Regions from separate parts of the Homo sapiens genome. Here regions 1, 2, 3, 5, 6 and 7 are each linked to region 4. Evidence: promoter capture Hi-C in human tissues and cell types (Jung and others, 2019). All regions are on one chromosome and are shown on one strand. Each heading gives the region's core, a stretch centred on a gene start or on the middle of the fragment in contact. The rest is flanking DNA. Distances are from core to core; before and after follow the strand shown.

Evidence for each region. The method cuts DNA at HindIII sites, captures the fragments that hold promoters and counts their contacts. A contact is called where the count stands out against the background at its distance.
Region 1: a fragment that was not itself captured here is called in contact with the fragment with the promoter of KCND2 in region 4 in 5 of the 25 tissues and cell types used here (dorsolateral prefrontal cortex, heart left ventricle, liver and 2 more).
Region 2: a contact is called between a fragment that was not itself captured here and the fragment with the promoter of KCND2 in region 4, in 2 of the 25 tissues and cell types used here (mesenchymal stem cells and mesendoderm cells).
Region 3: a fragment that was not itself captured here is called in contact with the fragment with the promoter of KCND2 in region 4 in 2 of the 25 tissues and cell types used here (dorsolateral prefrontal cortex and lymphoblastoid cells).
Region 5: a contact is called between a fragment that was not itself captured here and the fragment with the promoter of KCND2 in region 4, in 2 of the 25 tissues and cell types used here (mesenchymal stem cells and small bowel).
Region 6: a fragment that was not itself captured here is called in contact with the fragment with the promoter of KCND2 in region 4 in 1 of the 25 tissues and cell types used here (mesenchymal stem cells).
Region 7: a contact is called between a fragment that was not itself captured here and the fragment with the promoter of KCND2 in region 4, in 4 of the 25 tissues and cell types used here (hippocampus, lymphoblastoid cells, mesenchymal stem cells and 1 more).

What each region holds. Positions count from the first base shown.
Region 1 is chr7:119,883,993-119,886,725 of GRCh38, forward strand. The region is part of intron 1 of LINC02476 (long intergenic non-protein coding RNA 2476); the gene reads right to left. Among named protein-coding and RNA genes, the nearest start is that of LINC02476, 22 kb to the right of the region's middle. The HindIII fragment of the contact is 5,156 bases long and covers 1-2,733 here.
Region 2 is chr7:119,918,525-119,921,325 of GRCh38, forward strand. No RefSeq gene overlaps it. Among named protein-coding and RNA genes, the nearest start is that of LINC02476, 13 kb to the left of the region's middle. The HindIII fragment of the contact is 8,566 bases long and covers 1-2,801 here.
Region 3 is chr7:120,710,951-120,713,650 of GRCh38, forward strand. All of the region lies in intron 1 of KCND2 (potassium voltage-gated channel subfamily D member 2), which reads left to right. Among named protein-coding and RNA genes, the nearest start is that of TSPAN12, 150 kb to the right of the region's middle. The HindIII fragment of the contact is 4,297 bases long and covers 1-2,700 here.
Region 4 is chr7:120,271,680-120,274,460 of GRCh38, forward strand. It overlaps KCND2 (potassium voltage-gated channel subfamily D member 2), which reads left to right and starts at 1,496. Exons shown (of 6, transcript NM_012281.3): 1 at 1,496-2,781. RefSeq lists silencers at 583-682, 1,602-1,751 and an enhancer at 2,192-2,261. The HindIII fragment of the contact is 5,227 bases long and covers 447-2,781 here.
Region 5 is chr7:119,816,980-119,819,679 of GRCh38, forward strand. The region is part of intron 1 of LINC02476 (long intergenic non-protein coding RNA 2476); the gene reads right to left. Among named protein-coding and RNA genes, the nearest start is that of LINC02476, 89 kb to the right of the region's middle. The HindIII fragment of the contact is 4,042 bases long and covers 1-2,700 here.
Region 6 is chr7:120,730,142-120,732,841 of GRCh38, forward strand. All of the region lies in intron 1 of KCND2 (potassium voltage-gated channel subfamily D member 2), which reads left to right. Among named protein-coding and RNA genes, the nearest start is that of TSPAN12, 130 kb to the right of the region's middle. The HindIII fragment of the contact is 4,011 bases long and covers 1-2,700 here.
Region 7 is chr7:119,845,750-119,848,569 of GRCh38, forward strand. The region is part of intron 1 of LINC02476 (long intergenic non-protein coding RNA 2476); the gene reads right to left. Among named protein-coding and RNA genes, the nearest start is that of LINC02476, 60 kb to the right of the region's middle. The HindIII fragment of the contact is 5,258 bases long and covers 1-2,820 here.

The DNA of each region.
Region 1 (2,733 bases), core at 44-2,543, 390 kb before region 4:
GTTTGCCATTTGTATGTCTCTCTTTGAGAAATGTCTATTCTGATCTTTTCCTTACTTTGTAATTGGATTATTAGATTTTTTTCCTACAAAGTTGTTCGAACTCCTCATATATTCTTGTTATGAATCCCTTGTGAGATGGGTAGTTTGCAAATATTTGCTTCCATTCTGTGGGTTGTCTTTTCACTTTGTTTATTGTATCTTTGCTTTACAGAAGCTTTTAAACTTGATGTGATTCTACTTATGAATTTTTGTTTTGATTGTCTGTGCTTGTAGTGTATTGCTCAGGAAACATTTGCCCACACCAAAGTCCTGGAGACTTTCCCCAATATTTTTTTGGGTTAGTTTCATAGTTTGAAGTCTTAGATTTGTCTCTAATCCATTTTGATTTGATATTTGTATATGGCAAGAGACAGGGGACTAGTTTCATTCTCCTGCATATAGATATCCAGTTATCCCAGCACCATTTACTAAAGAAACTGTCCTTTCCCCATTGTATATTCATGACATCTTTGTCAAAATTTAGTTCACTGTAGATGTATGGATTTGTTTCTGGGTTCTCCATTCTATTCCCTTGGTCTGTATGACTGTGGCTTTTTATTTTCTGCCACTACCATGCTGTTTCGGTTACTATTGCTCTGTAGTATAACATGAATCAGGTAACGTGATTCCTGCAGTTTTGTCTTTTTGCTCATGATGGCTTTGGCACTTCTGGTCTTTTGTGGTTCCATGTATATTTTAGGATAGTTTTTATTTTATTTCTGTGAAGAATGTCATGGGTACTTTGATAGGCATTGCATTGAATCTACAGATTTCTTTAAGTAGTATGAACATTTTAGCAATATTGATTATTTCCATCTGTGAACATAGAGTATCTTTCCATGTTTTGGTGTCCTCTTCAATTTTTTCCAACAATGTTTCTACTTGTCCATTTTCATGTTACTATGAAGAAATATCCAAGACTAGGTGATTTACAAACAAATATAGGTTTAATGGACTCACAGTTCCACATGGCTGAGGAGGCTAACAATCATGTTGGAAGGCAAAGGGGGAACAAAGGCATGTCTTACATGGTGGCAGGCAAGAGAGCATGTGCAGGGGAACTGCCCTTTATAAAATGATAAGATCTCATAGACTTATTTACTATCATGAGAACAGCACAGGAAAAACACACTCCAATGATTCAATTACCTCCCACCAGGTCCCTCTCAGGACATGTGGGGATTACAGGTGCTAAAATTCAAGATGAGATTTGGGTTGGGAAAGAGCCAAACCATATCATTCCACTTTTGGCCCCTCCCAAATCCCACGTCCTCACATTTCAAAACCAGTCATGCCTTCCCAACAGTCCCCCAATGTCTTAACTCATTTCAGCATTAACTCAAAAGTTCACAGTCCAAATTCTCATCTGAGACAAGGCAAGTCCTTCTGCCTATGAGCCTGTTAAATCAAAAGCAAGTTAGTTACTTCCTAGATACAAGGGGGGTACAGATACTGCATAAATACACTCATTCCAAATGAGAAAAATGGCCAAAATGAAGGGGCTACAGGCCCCGTGCAAATCTGAAATCCAGTAGGGCAGTCAAATCTTAAAGCTCCAAAATGATCTCCTTTGACTCTATGTCTCGCATCCAGCTCATGCTGATGCAAGTAATGGGTTCCCATGGTCTTGGGCAGCTTCACCCCTGTGGCTTTCCAGGGTACAGCCACCCTTCTGGCTGCTTTCACAGGCTGGCATTGAGTAACTGTGGCTTTCCCACGCACATGGTACAAGGTGTTGGAAGAGCTACCATTCTGCATTCTGAAGGATGGTGGCTCTCTTCTCATAGCTCCACTAGGCAGTTCCCCAGTGGAGAATCTGTGTGTGGGGGGCTCCAACCCACATTTTCGTTTGGTACTGCCCTAGCAGGGGTTCGCCATGAGAGCTTCACTCCTGCAGTACACCCCGCATGGACATCCAGGCATTTGCATACATCCTATGAAATCTAGGCAGAGGATAGATGCTTGTCTTCTCAATTCTTGTCTTCTGCACATCCACAGAACCAACACCATATGGAAGCTGCCAAGGCTCGGGGCTTACCCTTTGAAGCCATGGCCTGATTGCATGTTGGCCACTTTTAGCCATGGCTGGAGTGGCTGGGATGGACGGCACAAACTCCCTAGGCTGCACACAGCAGGAAGGCCCTGGGCCTGGCTCAGAAAACTATATTTCCCTTCTAAGCCTGAGGCCTGTGATGGGAGGTGCTGCCATGAAGGTCTCTGACATGCCCTGAAGATATTTTCCCTATTGTCTTGGTGATTAACATTTGGCTTCTCGTTACTTATGCAAATTTCTGCAGCAGGCTTGAATTATTCCCCAGAAAATGATTTTTTTCTTTTTTTATACTGCACTGTCAGCCTGTAAATTTTGTAAACTTTTAAACTGTTTTTTTTTTAAAAATACTTTGCCACTTAGAAATTTCTTCTGCCAGGTACCCTAAATAATATCTCTTAAGTTCAACGTTCCACAGAACTCTAGGGCAGGGGCAAAATGCTGCCAGTCCCTTTGCATAGCAAGAGTAACTTTTACTCCAGTTCCCAAGAATTTCTCCATCGCCATTTGAGACCACATCAGCCTAGACTTTATTGCCCATATCACTATCAGCATTTTGGTCAAAGCTATTCAACAAATCTGCAGGAAGTTCCAAGCTTTCCCACATCTTCCTTTCTTCTGAGCCCTCCAAGTCTCTAGGAAGT
Region 2 (2,801 bases), core at 4-2,503, 350 kb before region 4:
ACACCATTATAAACAGATGTTTATGTCACCAGTTCATTAACAGCAAGTTTAAAGATTGCTTGAGGCCAGGAATTCAAGACCAGCCTTAGCAATAGAGATAGACCCTGTCCCTAAATAATAATTAAAAAAAAAAAAAAGTCAGGCATACTGGTGCACATCTGTGATCCCAGCTATTCAGGAGGCTGAAGTGGGAGGATCACTGGAGCCCAGGAGAGGTTGATGCTGCAGTAAATTATCACTGGGCTGCCGTACTCCAGCTTGGGTAATAGAATGAGACTCTTCTCTAAAAATAAATAAATCAGTACATAATAAAATAAGTTTGAAGATGAATGACATTTTTAAAAGTTATCAATAATAAAACAACTTTTGAACAACCAATGGAAGATGAAAAAAAGGCTTACAATTTTCTCTATAGAAATATTATTATAAAATATTACCTAAAAGACAATAAAATAATAGAAAAATACAGAAAATTATTGTAGAGTATGTCACATAATATATTTTCTTGTTTTTCTGTATTTTATTATGTTGTGTCAGCTTCTTGAAATTTATGATTATGATATATTTTCTCTGTCTAAATAAATATTCCATACCGTATGTATTTTTTGTTTCTTCTTTTGTTTTAACCTAAAGATGTTCACCAAATTGTGTAAATTTAAGCTTCAAAAAAATGGATTCACCATTGCCATTATATGGAGTACAAAAATAAACACTGAAAGAAAAATTTAATTGTGCAGTAATTCTAATTGTTTTGCATTTGATATCTTTCTTCAATTAAAATTGTATCACACTTGATTTGGATTCAAATGTTCCCATTGTCTTTTAAACCTCAGAAAATTATCAAGGTATTTTCTGTTATTTGTACATCTTGTTCCATGATCTTAAAAATGTTACTGGTGCAATAGCACCTTGAACATATTACTTCTCTCCATTTAAGCATCTTCTTCTTTTAAATAATAAAAGAAAAATATCTTTATTATTATAGAGTAAACAAAAATAGGAGCTTGGCATACATCGGTTAAAAATAACAAAATTCACAAATACATGAAATTAAATAGTATAAAGATTTTGTCAATACCTATTTGCAATTCTCTCATGATTTCCATAGAAATTCACTAATCATGTCATTTTTAAACAACAAAAATAATATTCCTAAGCATAAAATCAATTCAACCTTTTCTCTGTCTAGGTGCCTTCACACATAGAAAGAATCTTCTCCCAATGAATTATGTGTATCTCATAAGTGATGATTTCAACAACTTCTGATGATTTTGATAAAGTTGAAGTTTATATTTCTGTAAATTAGTCACCAGACATTTCTCTTGTTCCATTCAAATGCCTCATTATTATTACATCTGAGATTTCGTATTATTTGCCTTAGGTTGTTGGGCTTTGTAAATGAACAACCACTTTCTGTGATCTCATAAATAATTCCATTTCCTCTACTACTATTCCTTCAATCCCCTCAGCCAAACTGTGTTCCTTCAACACATCTCAAAATATATCTTAGGGAGTCTGTAAACATACTCCTCTCTATCACATAAATTACCATACTTGGGTGGTTTATATCCTCCATTCTCCTCCTTTATTTTTTTCTTTCCTTCCCAGACAGTAATCTGAAGGATCTGTGTGGCCTGAAATGGTTTGGGCTTCTAGACAAATTGCTCTATGGTTCTGGCATCATCAGATACAGAATCTGTTGTGTTAAATGCTTTGGAAACATTGGCCAAACTACACTTGGGAAGTGAGACTAAGAAATAGCAGGGACTATTTCTGAGAGATAATATTTAGAATTATTTCAAATGCTTGCATTTGAATGATAGGAAATTTATTTGAATAATGTTCTTCAAAATTGTAGTTTGTGCTTTGGGGAGCCATATTGTTTATGCAAAGCTCACCTAAGAGTTGTCATGAGGTAGAGTGGGATTATAGCAAAAACTAAGAAAATGCTGGAAGTGTTCTCATTTAACAGAAAAATATAGATAAAAACCCTGCTATTACTAGAGTTATCATGTAATGTGTCTAGAAGTTATAATAAGACAAATAAATGATGATCCCAATAAAAGAGGAATATCTATTGGAGGGAAAGTAACACAAAAGTACAAGAATTTCTATAAATATGAATGCATACAGTTACTATCTTTCCTTATACTAGTAATAATATACTCAAGAATTTACTTTGGACACCAATTTTATAAGAAGCAACAAAATGTAGATTATACAATAGAGGTTGTATAGATTGAAAATATTATTGAGAAATTTTTTAAAGTTAACTATTTAGAGAAGCAAATCATATAACTTCCTTACAAGTATTAATTTAGAGGTTTATGATTATCCTCTAATACATGATTTTTTTGGTCAAACTAGATAACGTCATCCTCTGAAACATCTAAAACAACATTCAGTTTTTAATAAATTTCAAAATGTTAATAAATCATTGTGATATTGTAGGATAATATTAATAAATATAAAATACTCAAAGCTATATTAATTTATCCTGGACATTTTAGAATCAAGAATTTGAATAATGGTTCAAACAGTGTGTGTGTGTGTGTGTGTGTGTGTATGTGTGTGTAAGTTAGATTAACCATAGGAAATTACACAAAGTACTATTACCCATGGTTAAATTAATAATTTGTTCTTTATTCCTTTAAATTGCCTATTTTGTTATGTAGTCCTATCAATTCTACACCTGAAATCAATCTTAAATTTTCAACTTGTTTTCCTCTACACTGTCACTACCCCTATAAACCGTCTACACTGTCACTACCCCTATAAACCATCATCTGTAACAAACTATT
Region 3 (2,700 bases), core at 22-2,521, 440 kb after region 4:
CGTATGCCCTTGATTATACATTTTTATTCTGTATACATTGTTTCTTATATATTTTCTACTTTTCTTCCACAATTTATTTGGTGATATAAAATATACAAGTGTATTTTCTTAAATTACATTACAATTAGAACTATGCATATGACACAAAAATACGAAATGTAGATGATATATATTTTATATACATTTGTTACATAATATAAACATGATTAAATAAAAGATGACAAATTAGATTTATGAATTGTGTGAGAGATGTCATATCTCACATAAAGACACTGAATTTAGCATTTGATCAAAAATTCAAAGATACAGATTTCATCAGTACAGTCCTTATACACATTTAAATTTCTGAGTGTATATTTTGCATTCTATGTAATATTTATTATTTATTCAGTAAAACCAAAGATTAGTATATGCAAAGCAATGAATTCAACATTGTATTTGCAATGACTTGCATTCCCTTTACAAAGATGCTTAAAGCAGTTTAACATCTGATAGCTATGAAGATGAACTTTTTCAAACTTAAGAAATTCTAGAGGCCCACGTTGAAAGATAATATATTCCCTTATGAAAACAAGTAGAACTAAATAGGCGATGGAGAATGTTAAGCTAGAAAGGGGACCCAGAGGGCTCCCTACATTGAATCACATGAGGATATACCCGTTCTTGTAATTGAAGACTTGACATTAATTATTTGTATTTCTTTATGAACAAGTAAAAGGCTTTAAATAGTTTTTGTAATTTATAGAAGTTCTGTTCAGGTTTAGTTGATAAAATATTCTGGTTCTATTCCTTGAGATTTCAGTTTCTGAGCAACAGCAGTTCAAAAATGATTTGTAAGATTGAGTTTATTTTTTATTTTAATGTAAGGGTTCACCAAAGTCCATATTTATAGTTAGAATCATAATTTATTTAAATACTGGGTGATAATCAGGCAAGTCAATAAATGAACAAATCAAAATACACAGGCTAAAGTGAGTAGTAAAAGAGCTTATTGTGTAACAAAGACTAAATAATTTAAAGCAAAATTAAGGTGAGTACTATGCTTCATTCAATAGTTGATGTCTCAGGTGCTTCCTTCCAATTTAAAAGATGAAGAGGAGCTGACTTGATCGGTCCTAGCTGATGTTCCTTGTCCTACCTTCTGTCAATATGAACCACAAAAGCACTGAAATAAGAAAGCTTTTTTTTTTTTTTTGTCGTGGTACGTCTAATTCTTACATGTATCTGAAGAGTCTATTTAATTCATAAAACTTCTATTTTGTGGGTTTTCTTTGAATTTTGGATATCTGAATTTTTTTTTTTTTTTTTTTTTTTTTTTTTTTTTTTTTTTTGAGATGGGGTCTTGCTCTTTCACCCAGGCTGGAGTGCAGTGGCGTGATCTTGGCTCACTGCAACCTCTGCCTCCCCAGTTCAAGTGATTCTCCTGCCTCAGCTTCCCAAGTAGCTGGGATTATAGGTGCCCGCTACCACGCCCATTTTTTTTTTTCTCCAGTAGAGGCAGGGTTTCACCATGTTGCCTTGGCTGATCTTGAACTCCTGACCTCAGGTGATCCACCTGCCTTGGCCTCCCAAAGTGCTGGGATTATAGGCATGATCCACTGCGCCTGGCCTGAAATGTGCTTTTTGATTTAGTTTTGTAGTGTAAGAGGAATACAAATGAATAAAAGACTAATAGATAAGGAGAACAGACAAATGTCCATAATGAAAAGTGCAAAACATGTCCATCTAAGAGAATAAATTTTATTTGGTTTTAAAATAGAAGGAAACGAAAAGAAATAGTAATCTTAAATTAGAAGTTCAAAAATCAGCTACAGGTTTCTGAAGTGATGGCTCAGCCTAAATTTTCTGAACAAATGTGTAACCTATCCCGATTTCCTTCTTGAAAGACTTATTTTCATCTGCAAGGTCCAGAATGCCTGGGTACGATTTAAGCTCTGCCATTAATAAGCATGCACAACACCTGTAGATGTAGTCTTATTTATAAATAGGATCATAAGACTGCATATCAGCTCTTTTAAAAATGTGAGGTCATGCCCACGTAGCCCTTGTCACCTCTCCTGTGATTATCCCTGCAAGAATTTAGCCTTGCTAAGCCTCCTTTCCCTTACCTGTAATAAAGGTGTAATATTAATAGCCACCTCATTGTGAGGTTACGAACTTATTATAAATGTATTTTTCCATATAAGGTTCTTAGCATAGTGTCCAATAAATGTTATTTATTGTTTAGCCAAGGAGGACTAAAGCTCAGCCCTTTATAAGAGAAGCTCCTAGGAAGTCCATGAACCTTCATGCACCAACTCAGCCTCCAAGAGCAGAGTCTGCCTGGATCTGAATAGGACACTTTGGTGTAATAATCTCCATCACGAACTGGGAAGTAGGAAGTGAATATTCGTATCTCCACATTCCACACATAGGAAACCATCTTAAATAAGCTAGATTATTGAGTACAATGTCACATGGCTAGCAGGAGACAGAGCTGAACTTGACCACAGGTCTTCTGATTTCATGTCTTGCCAAATGAGAAAAACTCACAGTCATGTTCCTTCAAATAAAATGTCATCAACTGTGAAACAGTAGGAAAGAGCTACTCTAGTGTTCAGCAATCAGTAGCAGTAGGCTACTTTTCTTAGCAAAATTCAAGCAGGGCATAAATCTGGGCAAATATGACATCAGAGGTGGACATGAATAGTGACAAGTGCC
Region 4 (2,781 bases), core at 246-2,745:
GTTCCTTGTCCTCAAACTTAAATGGTGCATTAGCTCTGACTTCATTACTACTGACACAGGATTCCTTAAATCTCTATTCTGTAAACAAATAAACAAACAAAAAATACCCTTTTATCTCTACAGAAAATCCTGTACATGATAAGGATATTTTAAATTCTCTGGTTATTTTCTATACTCATTTTTTAGTTTATATATTTTCTTTGACGTATCCCATTTCAAATTTTCAAGGTTGACACATCATGCCTGTAATCTCTAGGGCTTAAAAGTCAATTTCCGTAAAGTACAACACACAGTCCACTTATTTTACAAACCAAGGGCAGTCAAACCAAGCCATGAAAAGTAATTTTTAGGTAGAAATTAGGCTACTATTCTTCATCAATACAGATGAAGCCTCATTATTGCCAAAGATCTTAATTACTATGATGATGATGATTCAGTAATCTAGATTTAATTTTCAAAGGAATTTCAAAAGGAAACTCTCCACATCTCATCCCACAACTATCCAAATGCAGACTCAAGCCTAAGTAGTATATGTCACATAAACACAAAAAAGGTGGGTGGCAGCGAAGGGGTTTGGGGATGTTTATGTGATCTGACTCTCTGTTGGACCAGTTAATTTTGATCCTTCACCTTCCTAAAGCATCCAAACCTTAGGTGCAGATTTAACTTCTCGCCATCCACGCCATCTAGTGGCTTGTATGTGTTACGTTTGGTTTTAAGGATGATTCCTAATGACTCGGGGGCGGGGTACGCGAAAAACAAAAAGGTTGGTAGCGACAATTTTCCTGTGTCTCTCTACCTCAGTAACCCCTCATACGAACACCTTTAACTCTTTTAACTATTTTAAATATGCGCAGTGATGCGCAGAGAGGATGAAGGGGACGCAAACTTTCAGAGACGCACGCCCCTTGACGATGACATTTAGAAAAGGGCTCCACATCCCTGTTATTCGTAAAGGACGGGAAAAGGAGTTGTGTCAAGACCTCGATCGAGGAGAGTCTCTGATTTTTTGGCAAGTTGGACAGATGGCATATCAATCCCTGCAACGTTAACAATCTGGTTTTGAAAATAAATAAAAACAGAAAGAGGAAATGCACTTAAAAATTCCGCGTCGGAGCTTTGCGGGTCTTGCCTTCCAGTCGCCCCCAGAAGACAACCAATTCCTGCGCATTCCGCTCCGCTCACCCTCCTTCCCAGCTTCTCTCGCTCTCTTTCCCCCCATTTTCCCACGCTCGCCTTGAACCGGGACTCGAGAGGCAGAAGCAAGGCACGGGTCCCCTTTCTCCTCTCCTCCACCAAACCACCGCAGCCCAGCACGTGAAGCTTCCCTTTGTTCATCCGAGGCTCGCTTTTCTCCCCAGCAGATCCACCTGGATGCTCTCCCTCGGTGACATTTTGCGCCGGGGTTGGTGGGTGGCTGGGGTGGAGCGAGAGGAGCCCGAGGGGGCGGGGGCGGAGAAAGGTCAAGCCGAGGGAAAGGCAGGAGACGCCTTTCCTAACCTGCGTGGCGGGGCGTGCGCGCGGTTATTTATTTATTTTCTCCTTATTTATTGATCGCACTAGCAGAGCAGCGCGGGGAGCCCGGGGAGATGCAGGACCACCCACTGGCGGGGAAGCAGCTAGCAGCCCTCCCGCGCCCCCGCGCTGCCGAGCGCCTTCTGCCTCCGCGCTCGGACGAGAGCCCGTGCCGGCCCCGGCCCCGGCCCCACCGCGCCAACGCCGCCCGCCCGGCCGCCCCGCAGCCCCGCCGCCCCGCAGCCCCGCACCGCGCTGGCCAGGCTCCCGCGACAGTGGCCCCGCAGTAAGTTGGCAGGAGCGAGTCCCCTCCGTTCTCGCCTCCCCCGCACCTTTTGAACTTGTTGCTGCTGCTCTGCTCGCCTGCGCCTGGCTTTTGGAAGGTGAAAAGGAGGAGGGAGGCACGGAGGGATGGGGGAAGGGAAAGAAGAGCTCGCTTGAGCTTTATTTATGCTCTCTCGGCGCATCGGATTCGGCTGCTCGCGAGCTGCTTTCTCTCCTCTTCCCTTTCCGGGTGCACGGCGAGGAGAAAGTCTCTATGCAACTAAGCCCCGGCGCGCACTTGGCCAGGTATGTACCGCGGGAGCGGCGCGTTCTGCGCGGAAGCAGATGCTGCTGCCGCCACGGCGGCGGCGGCTGCCAGCTCCTGAGCTCTGTAACTGTCACACTGCACCTGAGCTGAACTTGAAAAGAGAGTGAAGGGGCGATTGGGCGAACGCTTTTGGCAGACACAGAGGGTGTTTGTAGACGTGGGGGAGGAGAATCTCTATTAACGCCCCCCACCGTAACCACTGCACATCACCTCCATCTCTGCAAATACAGCCCGAGGAGTAGAGGCAGCAGCAGCTGGACCCCCAAAGAGAGACGTGGGGCAGCGGCTGTGACCGCATCTCCTGAGCTACAACAACAGGTCGCCTTTTTGAGACTCCTTTGGCGGGAAGGGCTACTTGGAAAGGAAGGTTTGAAAGAGTGAGAAGGGTAGGTGTAAGGGTTCCCTAATTCGTCGAAAGAATTCTATTGGGTGACTCTCGTTCGTCTTCTCTATCCTACACTCCACATACTGACCCTATATTATCCAGACTGTGCCGGGGAGAAATCAAAAACACCTGTTTGAAGAAACGGCTGCACCTGTGTGCTTATTTGTGCCAGAGGGTGGCCTAGCCCACCTGCAGGAAGAGATTTGGCTGGGTTCTGTTGAGGGTGATTGTTAGGACGTTGTATTTTGTTGCCATTATTCCAAATACCTGTCTTGGAGGGAAAGTTGCC
Region 5 (2,700 bases), core at 50-2,549, 450 kb before region 4:
AGTTTCTTACATTACTCAGAAAAACATTGAATTTAAAATTTATGAATTGTTTCAGGAATTGTATATTGAATATTTTAAAACTGAGGTTGACTGGGGATAACTGAGACAAGGGAAGCAAAAACCTGAAAGAGTGGAGATCTATTGTAATTCCATTTTATTTTTTTGAGAAATTTATTTACTGTTTTTTCATAATGAGTGCACTCATTTACATTCACACATGCAATGTATGAGTGTTCCTTTTTCTCCCCATCCTCACCAGCACTTGTTATTTTATTTTTATAATGAACATTCTAACTGGTGTGATAAAACATCTAATTTAGTTTTGAGTTACACTTTTCTGATGATCCATGATTTTTAGATTTTCTCATGAATCTGGTAGTCATTTTTATGTTGTATTTTTTAAAAAATGTTGATTAAAGATGGGTTATTATCTTGTCTTTGCTATTGAGTTGTAAGCTGTCGAATTTTTAAATGTATTTTAACTATTAACCATTTTTCCAACAAATTGTTTGCAAATATTTTTTCCATACATTAGGTTGCTTTTTCACACTAATGCCAGTTCCTTTTGCTGTGTAAAAGCACTTTGGTTGATCTAATCTCATTTGTCTATTTTTACAATTGTTGTCTGTGTTATAGCAGTTACGTTCAAAGAAATCTTTTCCCAGTGATATGGTTTGGCTGTATCCCCACCCAAATCTCATCTTGAATTGTAGCTCCCATAATTCCCATGTATTGTGGGAGGAACCCAGTGGGAGATGATTGAATCATGGGGGCAGTTTCCACCATACTGTTCTTGTGGTAGTCAATGTCTCATGAGAGCTGATGGTTTTATAAGGGGAAAGCCCTATTGCTGGACTCCCATTTTCTTCTCTTGTCTGCCGCCATGTGAGAAGTGCCTTTCACCTTTAGCCATGATTGTAAGGCCTCCCCAACCATGTGGGACTGTGAGTCCATTAAACGTCTTTCTTTTGTAAGTTGCCTAATCTCCGGTATGTCTTTATCAGCAATGTGAAAACAGACTAATAAAGTTCATTGGTATCAGAAGAGTGGGGCACTGCTGAAAAGAGGCTCGAAAATGTGAAAGCAACTTTACAACTGGGTAACAGGTGGAGGTTGGAACAGTTTGAAGGGCTCAGAAGAAAACAGGAAAATGAGTGAAACTTAAGAACCTCCTAGAGTCTTATTGAATGGCTTTGAATGGAATGCTGATAATGATTGGACAATGAAATCCAGGCTGAGATGGTCTCAGATGGAAATAAGGAACTTTTTGGGAACTTGAGCAAAGGTAACTCTTGTTATGTTTTAACAAAGAGACTGACATAATTTTGCCCCTGCCCTAGAGACTTGTGGAACTCTGAACTTGAAGGAGATGATCCACAGAAGTTCAGAAAATTTGCAGCCTGATGATGTTATAGAAAAGAAAAATCCATTTTCTGAGGAGAAATTTGAGCCAGCTGCAGAAATTTGTGTAAGTAATGAGGAGACAAATGTTAACCACTAAGACAGTAAGAAAAATATCTCCAGGGCATGTCAGAGGTCTTCATGGCAGGCCCCCGCATCAAAGGCCTGGAGGCCTAGGAAAAAGAAATGGTTTTGTGGGCTGGGTACAGGGTCCCCCTGCTGTGTAATGCCTAGAGATATGGTGCCCTGTTTCCAGCTGCTACAGCTGGGGCTGAAGGGGGCCAATGTAAAGCTTGGGCTGTGGCTTCAGAGGGTTCAAGCCCCAAGCATTGGCAGCTTCCACATGCTGTTGAGTCTTTGAGTGCAAAGAAGTCAAGAATTGGCATTTGGGAACCTCTGCCTAGATTTCAGACCATGTATACAAATTCCTGGACGTCCAGGCAGAAGTTTGATACAGAGATAGGGCCCTCACGGAGAACGTCTGCTAGGGCAGTGCTGAAGGGAAGTGTGGGGTTGAAGCCCCACACAGAGTCCCCACTGGGGTGCTGCCCAGTGGAGCTGTGAAGAGGGCCACCATCCTCCAGATCCCAGAATGATACGTCCACAGACAGCTTGCACCGTGCACCTGGAAAAGCCAGACATTCAACACCATCTTGTGACAGCAGCCATGGGGGAGGCTGTACCCTGCAAAATCACAGGAGTGGAGCTGCACAAGACCATGGGAACCCACCTCTTGCATCAGTGTGACCTGGATGTGAGCCATGGAATCAAAGGAGATCATTTTGAAGCTTTAATATTTGACTCCTCCACTGGATTTCAAAGGGGCTATAGGCCCCTTTGTTTTGGCCAATTTCTCCTATTTGGAATGACTATATTTACCCAATGCCTGTACCCCCATTGTATCTAGGAAGTAACTAACTTGCTTTTGATTTTACAGGCTCATAGGTGGAAGGGACTTGCCTTGTCCCAGATAAGACTTTGGACTATGGATTTTTGAGTTAATGCTGAAATAACTTAAGACTTTGGGGGACCGTTGGGAAGGCATGATTGGTTTTGAATGTGAGGACATGAGATTTGGATGGGGCCAGGTATAGAATGATATGGTTTGGCTGTGTCCTCACCCAAATCTCACCTTGAATTGTAGCTCCCATACTTCTTTCATGTTGTCGGAGGGACCCAGTGTGAAATGATGGAATCATGGGGATGGTTTTCCCCATACTGTTTGTGTAGTAGTGAGTAAGTCTCACGAGATTTGATGGTTTTATAAGGAGAAACCCTTTATTTGGCTCTCATTATCTT
Region 6 (2,700 bases), core at 53-2,552, 460 kb after region 4:
ATGGACTCAGTCCTTGTATTCTTTAGCCATAATAAATAATTGAGTTTTTATTAAAAATCAAATCCCTTTTTTAAAAGCCGTGTGTGTGTGTGCGCGCGTGCGTGTGTGTGTCTGTGTATGTACCTTCTCTGGGGCTTACTGCATAATCAGTGTGAAGGGGAAAAACATTGTGTATAAAATATGACTGGACATTCAATGTGAACTGTGACAGATACATAATTTGGCTCATATGTACACAGCATTGTATAAAAAGGAGTTGACCTTCCAATCCCACTGACATACCTCTACAGTAAGAATATCCCCAAGACTTTTGAAAATCATCTTCTAAATTCCTTTAGCTTTCACTGTTTCTTCACTAACATAACCTTTAGATTATAATTTAGCTTCCCAGATAGAAGGAGATCGTGTTTTATATGAACACAGCATTCTGGTTCTTAGGTTATTATTTTTGTACTATAAATTAATACTGTTATTCTGGTGCCAAAGCCTTGTGGGAACTTCAGCTATGTTAAATTAGCTCAACTACTGATCACCCACAAACACCAACAGGAATGAGTACCTGGATCTTCAAATCAAAGGACCAGAGCTCAGAATAGGGTCACTAAATGTGGCACTAGATAGTATCACCTTCTGTCTCTCTCAACAGTTTTTCTTCAGCCAATTCCTCTCCATCTCCATATTGACACACATATGTTTTCCCACAAAACAATGTTAGAGTGACTATTGCCTAGGCTACCTCTCAAGATACAATATAACCCCAAGTCCTCCTAAACTCCCTTGAGCATGGATTCTAGTATGTGAGTTCCTTTGATCCCTGTCTCTCAGGACTACACTCTCTGAGCATTGAGCTCTCCAAAGCCCCAGAGTAAGCATGGAGTAGTTGGAGCTCAGACACAGCTGGGTAACTTCGGCAATAGTAAGATGGAAAGAACTCCTCCTTGTCCCCCGCCCCAGGAGTGCACTCTAGACAAAGTCTCCATCAGTAAAGAAGAGAAAGTGTACTCATTCAACTAATATGTAGTAGGAGCTGGCCTTATGCTCACGAAACACAAAGTAGAACTGCTCCTGCTTTAGCAATTTTACATTCTAATGTCAGTAGGGTGGATGAGGAGTGAAAAAATAAATCAATAAATAAGAAAATGTTACTTGTTAATAAGTACTCTGAAGACAGTCAAATGAGGAAATGTTACAGAGAATGAATAGGAAAGAGAATAAGACTACTGTGAATTAGGTGGCCAGAAAATCACTTGGATGGAGACATTTAAATGGCACCCTGAATAATCACCATCTGGGGGCTGCACACAAAACAGAAGGCCAGATGGCCAGTGTGGCCAGAGGCCAGTGAGCTTGGTGAAAGGTGGTGTAAAATACAGGCAGGAACTAAATGAGGTAGGCCCTTGGAGGCAAAACTGAGGAGTTTGGATTTATTTCAGTTTCAAGTCCATGTCAGGGTTTAAGCAACATAGCAGTAGTCCAATCTCCATTTTTAAAACCAAAGTTCTGGCTGCTATGTTGGCATGAATTGTAAAGTGCTAAATGTAGAAAGGAGAGTCAGGTAAGAAGCTATATCTATGGCTCTGGCAAGAAATGACCACGGTTTGGTTTATTGTCATAAAGAGACTTGAATGGGATACAATTTGGTTTGCACAGAGACAACAAGACCAGCTAAGAGATGAAACGTTGATACTGGCAATTAAGGCGATGGCTCTTCCAATTTTGGTATGAACAACTGCATGGTGGTGATTATGTTTAATTATAAGTGGCAGAATTGTGGGGGGAAAATATTTGAGAGAGGAAGAGGAAGCTAGGGAAATGAGAGTTCCATTTTGGTTAATTTAAATTTTAATGGGCTCTTAGGCATCCAGGGGTAGAAATAATCAGACCAGACCACTCAAGATATGAATCTGATTTTCAGGAGAGACATCATGGCTGTCAATATAAATCAAGAGCATCAGCTGCATAGAGATAGTTTTAAGCTATGAGATTGGACAAAGTCACATAGGAAGTGGGTTTATATGGAGAAGATAAGAGGACGGAAGACTGAGACCTAAAGTACTCTAAGGTTTAGAAATCAGATAAGGGGAAAGGAGGCAGAAAAAAAGATGGAGAAGTGGTAGCCAATGAGATAGGAGGGAAAATAAGAATATTTTCTAATACTAAAGCCAAGAATAAAAGGAGTCTTTCAAGGAGAGAATAGTCAACTAATAAGCTACAAATGAGAGATTGAGTTAGATTTTTATGGAGAAATGGCCATTAGATTTCACAAGTGAAGGTTAATGGGGACCTTGAAAAGTTTATTTTTTAAATGATGACATCTGGTGAAAGGAATGTGATGTGCTACTTTTTCTACTTAAATTTCATAACCAATTGAATGTTGAAAAAACTAAGTGGAAAATTGTGTTATCCAGACTCTAAATTTCAGCATAGAATTATTGAGTATTAAATAAATGTAAAGAACTGTGTCATGGCATATAAAGGAAAAATTGAAGAGCTATCATTACATCATCTGACTTAAAATATTTTCCAATCAAAAAGATTACTTAATGTTAGAATCACTTTCTATAAGGTTGAAAGGTAATTTTTATATTCAGATATTTATAATTTCTGACATTAAAGTCTGAAGCCATATATATTATAGTCACAAAGTAGAAATAGATATGTCCAAAAAATCATTTGACTTAAAGGAAAAAATTCTTAGTT
Region 7 (2,820 bases), core at 258-2,757, 430 kb before region 4:
GCACCCAACATCAGAGCACACACACATATAAAGCAAGTATTGGCAGAATTGAAGGAAGAAATAGACAACACAAATTAGAAGATTTTAATACCCTACTTTCAATAATGGATAAAATATCAAGACCAAAACCCAAAAAAGGAAACAGAAAACTTGAATGACATAATAAATTAAATGGAACTAAAAAGCATATATGGAAAATTCCATTAAACAACTGAAGAATGCACATTCTTCTCAAGCATGCATAGAACATTCCCAAGCATAGATCACATATTAGGTCAAAAAACAAGTGTTAACCCATTTAGGAAGATTGAGGTTATACTGAGTATCTTTTTTGACCACAATAAAATAAAAAAAGAAATCAATAAAGGAAGGAAAACTAAAAAAATCAGAAATATGTGAAAATTAACACAGTACTGAACAAGCAATACTTCAAAGAAAAAATTTAAAAAAATTAGACAACATCTTGATACAAACGAAAAGAAAAAATATAGCATAAAAATTGATAAAATACAGCAAATGCAGTACTAAGAGGAAAGTTTACACTGGTAAAACTCTACATGAAAAAGAAAGCATATTATTTAAACCACCTAATTTTATACCTCAAGCAACTCTAAAAAAGGAACAAGCAAAATCCAAAGTTACGAGTAGGAAGGAAAAAAAAAAGCTATTGTCAAGTTTCTTGATGTTTTCAGAAAACAAAGTTTTATTTCTCTTTATTTTTAAATCGTTACTCTATTATATATTTCGTTTATTTCTAATCTTTTTTTTTTTTGTAAGGAGATTGAATTGGTAATTAAAAATCTCCTGACAAAGAAAAGCTTAGGACCATGTCTTCACTGGATATGTCAAGCAAACATTTACAGAAGAATTAATACTAATCCTTCTCAACTTCTTCCAAAACAACTGAAGAGGAAAGAATACTTACTCATTTTATGAGGCCACCATTATCCTGATACCAAAGCCTGGCAAAGACATTATAAGAAAATAAAATTGCAGGCTAATACCCCTTATAAATATAGATGCAAAAATGTTCAACAAAATATTAGAAACCCATAGTCAATAGCACATTAAAATAGCCATATACCATGATCAAGTGGGACTTATTCTTGGGATGCAAGAATGGTTCAACATACAAAAATAAATGTGATACACCAAGGTTAAAAATTACATGATCATCTCAGTAGACATAGAATGAAGCATTGAAAAAAACATTCAACATCCTTTTATGATAAAAGAAGTCAAACTAAGAATAAAAGGATATAACCTCAACATAAAAAGGCCATATATCAGAAAGCAACACCTTACACACAAACACACACACACACACACACACAGTTAAGATAATAAATGAATTCAGCAATTGCAGCATACAAAATGTATATGCAAAAGCCAGTGTTTATGTAAAATAACAACAAACAATCCACAAAGAAAATCTTTTTAAAAGTCTAATTTTTAATAATAACAAAGGAATATAATACTTAGGAACAAACTTAAATGAGAAAGTAAAATACATACCGAAAACACTGATGAAAGGAATTAAAGATGCAAGTAAATGGAAATGTAACCTGTGTTTGTGGATTGGAAGACCTAATGTTGTTGAAATATCCATACTAACCAAAATAACTAATTATAGATCCTATGCAATACCTATCAAAACGTGGTATATAACATATAATGGAATTTTATTCAGTCTTAAAAAATAAAATCCTGGTCAGGTGTGGTGGCTCACACCTTTAATCCCTGCACTTTAGGAGGCCATGGAGGGCGCATCAGTCTGAGGTCAGGAATTCGCGACCATCCTGGGCAACATGGGTAAACCTCTTCTCTATTAAAAGTACAAAAATTAGCCAGGCGTTGTGGAGCGTGCCTGTAATCCCAGCTTCTCGGGAGGCTGAGGCAGGAGAATCGCTTGAATCCAGGAGGTGGAGTTTGCAGTGAGCTGAGATCACACCACTGCACTCCATCCTGGGTGACAGAGCGAGACTCAGTCTAAATAAACAAAAATCCTGCCATATACTACACAGATGAAACTGACATCATTATACTAGGTGAAATAAACCAGACAGAAGGACAGATAGTGCATGGTTCTGTTAAATGAGATATCCAAAATAGTAAACTCATATAAAGTAGAATGATGGTTTCCATTGTCTGCCAAGAAGGAAAATGAGGTGTTATTCTTCAATGGATACAGAGTTTTTGTCACGCAAGATGAAAATGTCTAAAGATCTGCAGTAAAAAAGTATACATATGGTTGACAATACCATAAAGTATACTTAAAAACTTACTGAGAGGTTAGATTTTATAAGTAATTTACCACAAAAAAATGGAAGCTTACTTTCTGGATCACTAAGAATGGAGTATTATGGAACTAAAATACAGATGTATATTAGGAAGTACAGAGATAGCAGTGTCTAAGTGTCCAAAGATACTATTAGCTTTAATAAGTTTCACGAATTTGTCCAATTACAGAGTCCACTAACACAGAGTGGCCCTAGAAAGAGACTGATGGATGAATAATATTTCTCACTGAAAATTAAAAACTGCTACTATTTAGGGAAACCAGAGATGGTAATAATGGCACATCAAGAGCATTACATTTATGTATAGATTTTATATTGCATCTGTTGCCGTTGTTATTATATATTTTAATGTTATTTCTATTTTTAAGCTCTTCAAGCTGACACTTTCACCTACCTCGTGTATCAACAGAAATTGTTTAATTTCCTCACATCTACACTCCTATATGGCTCGTTACATGGATATATACGCTATTTTTATATTTCTCAATGCTGACAAATAAAGATTAAAATGTTTACATCT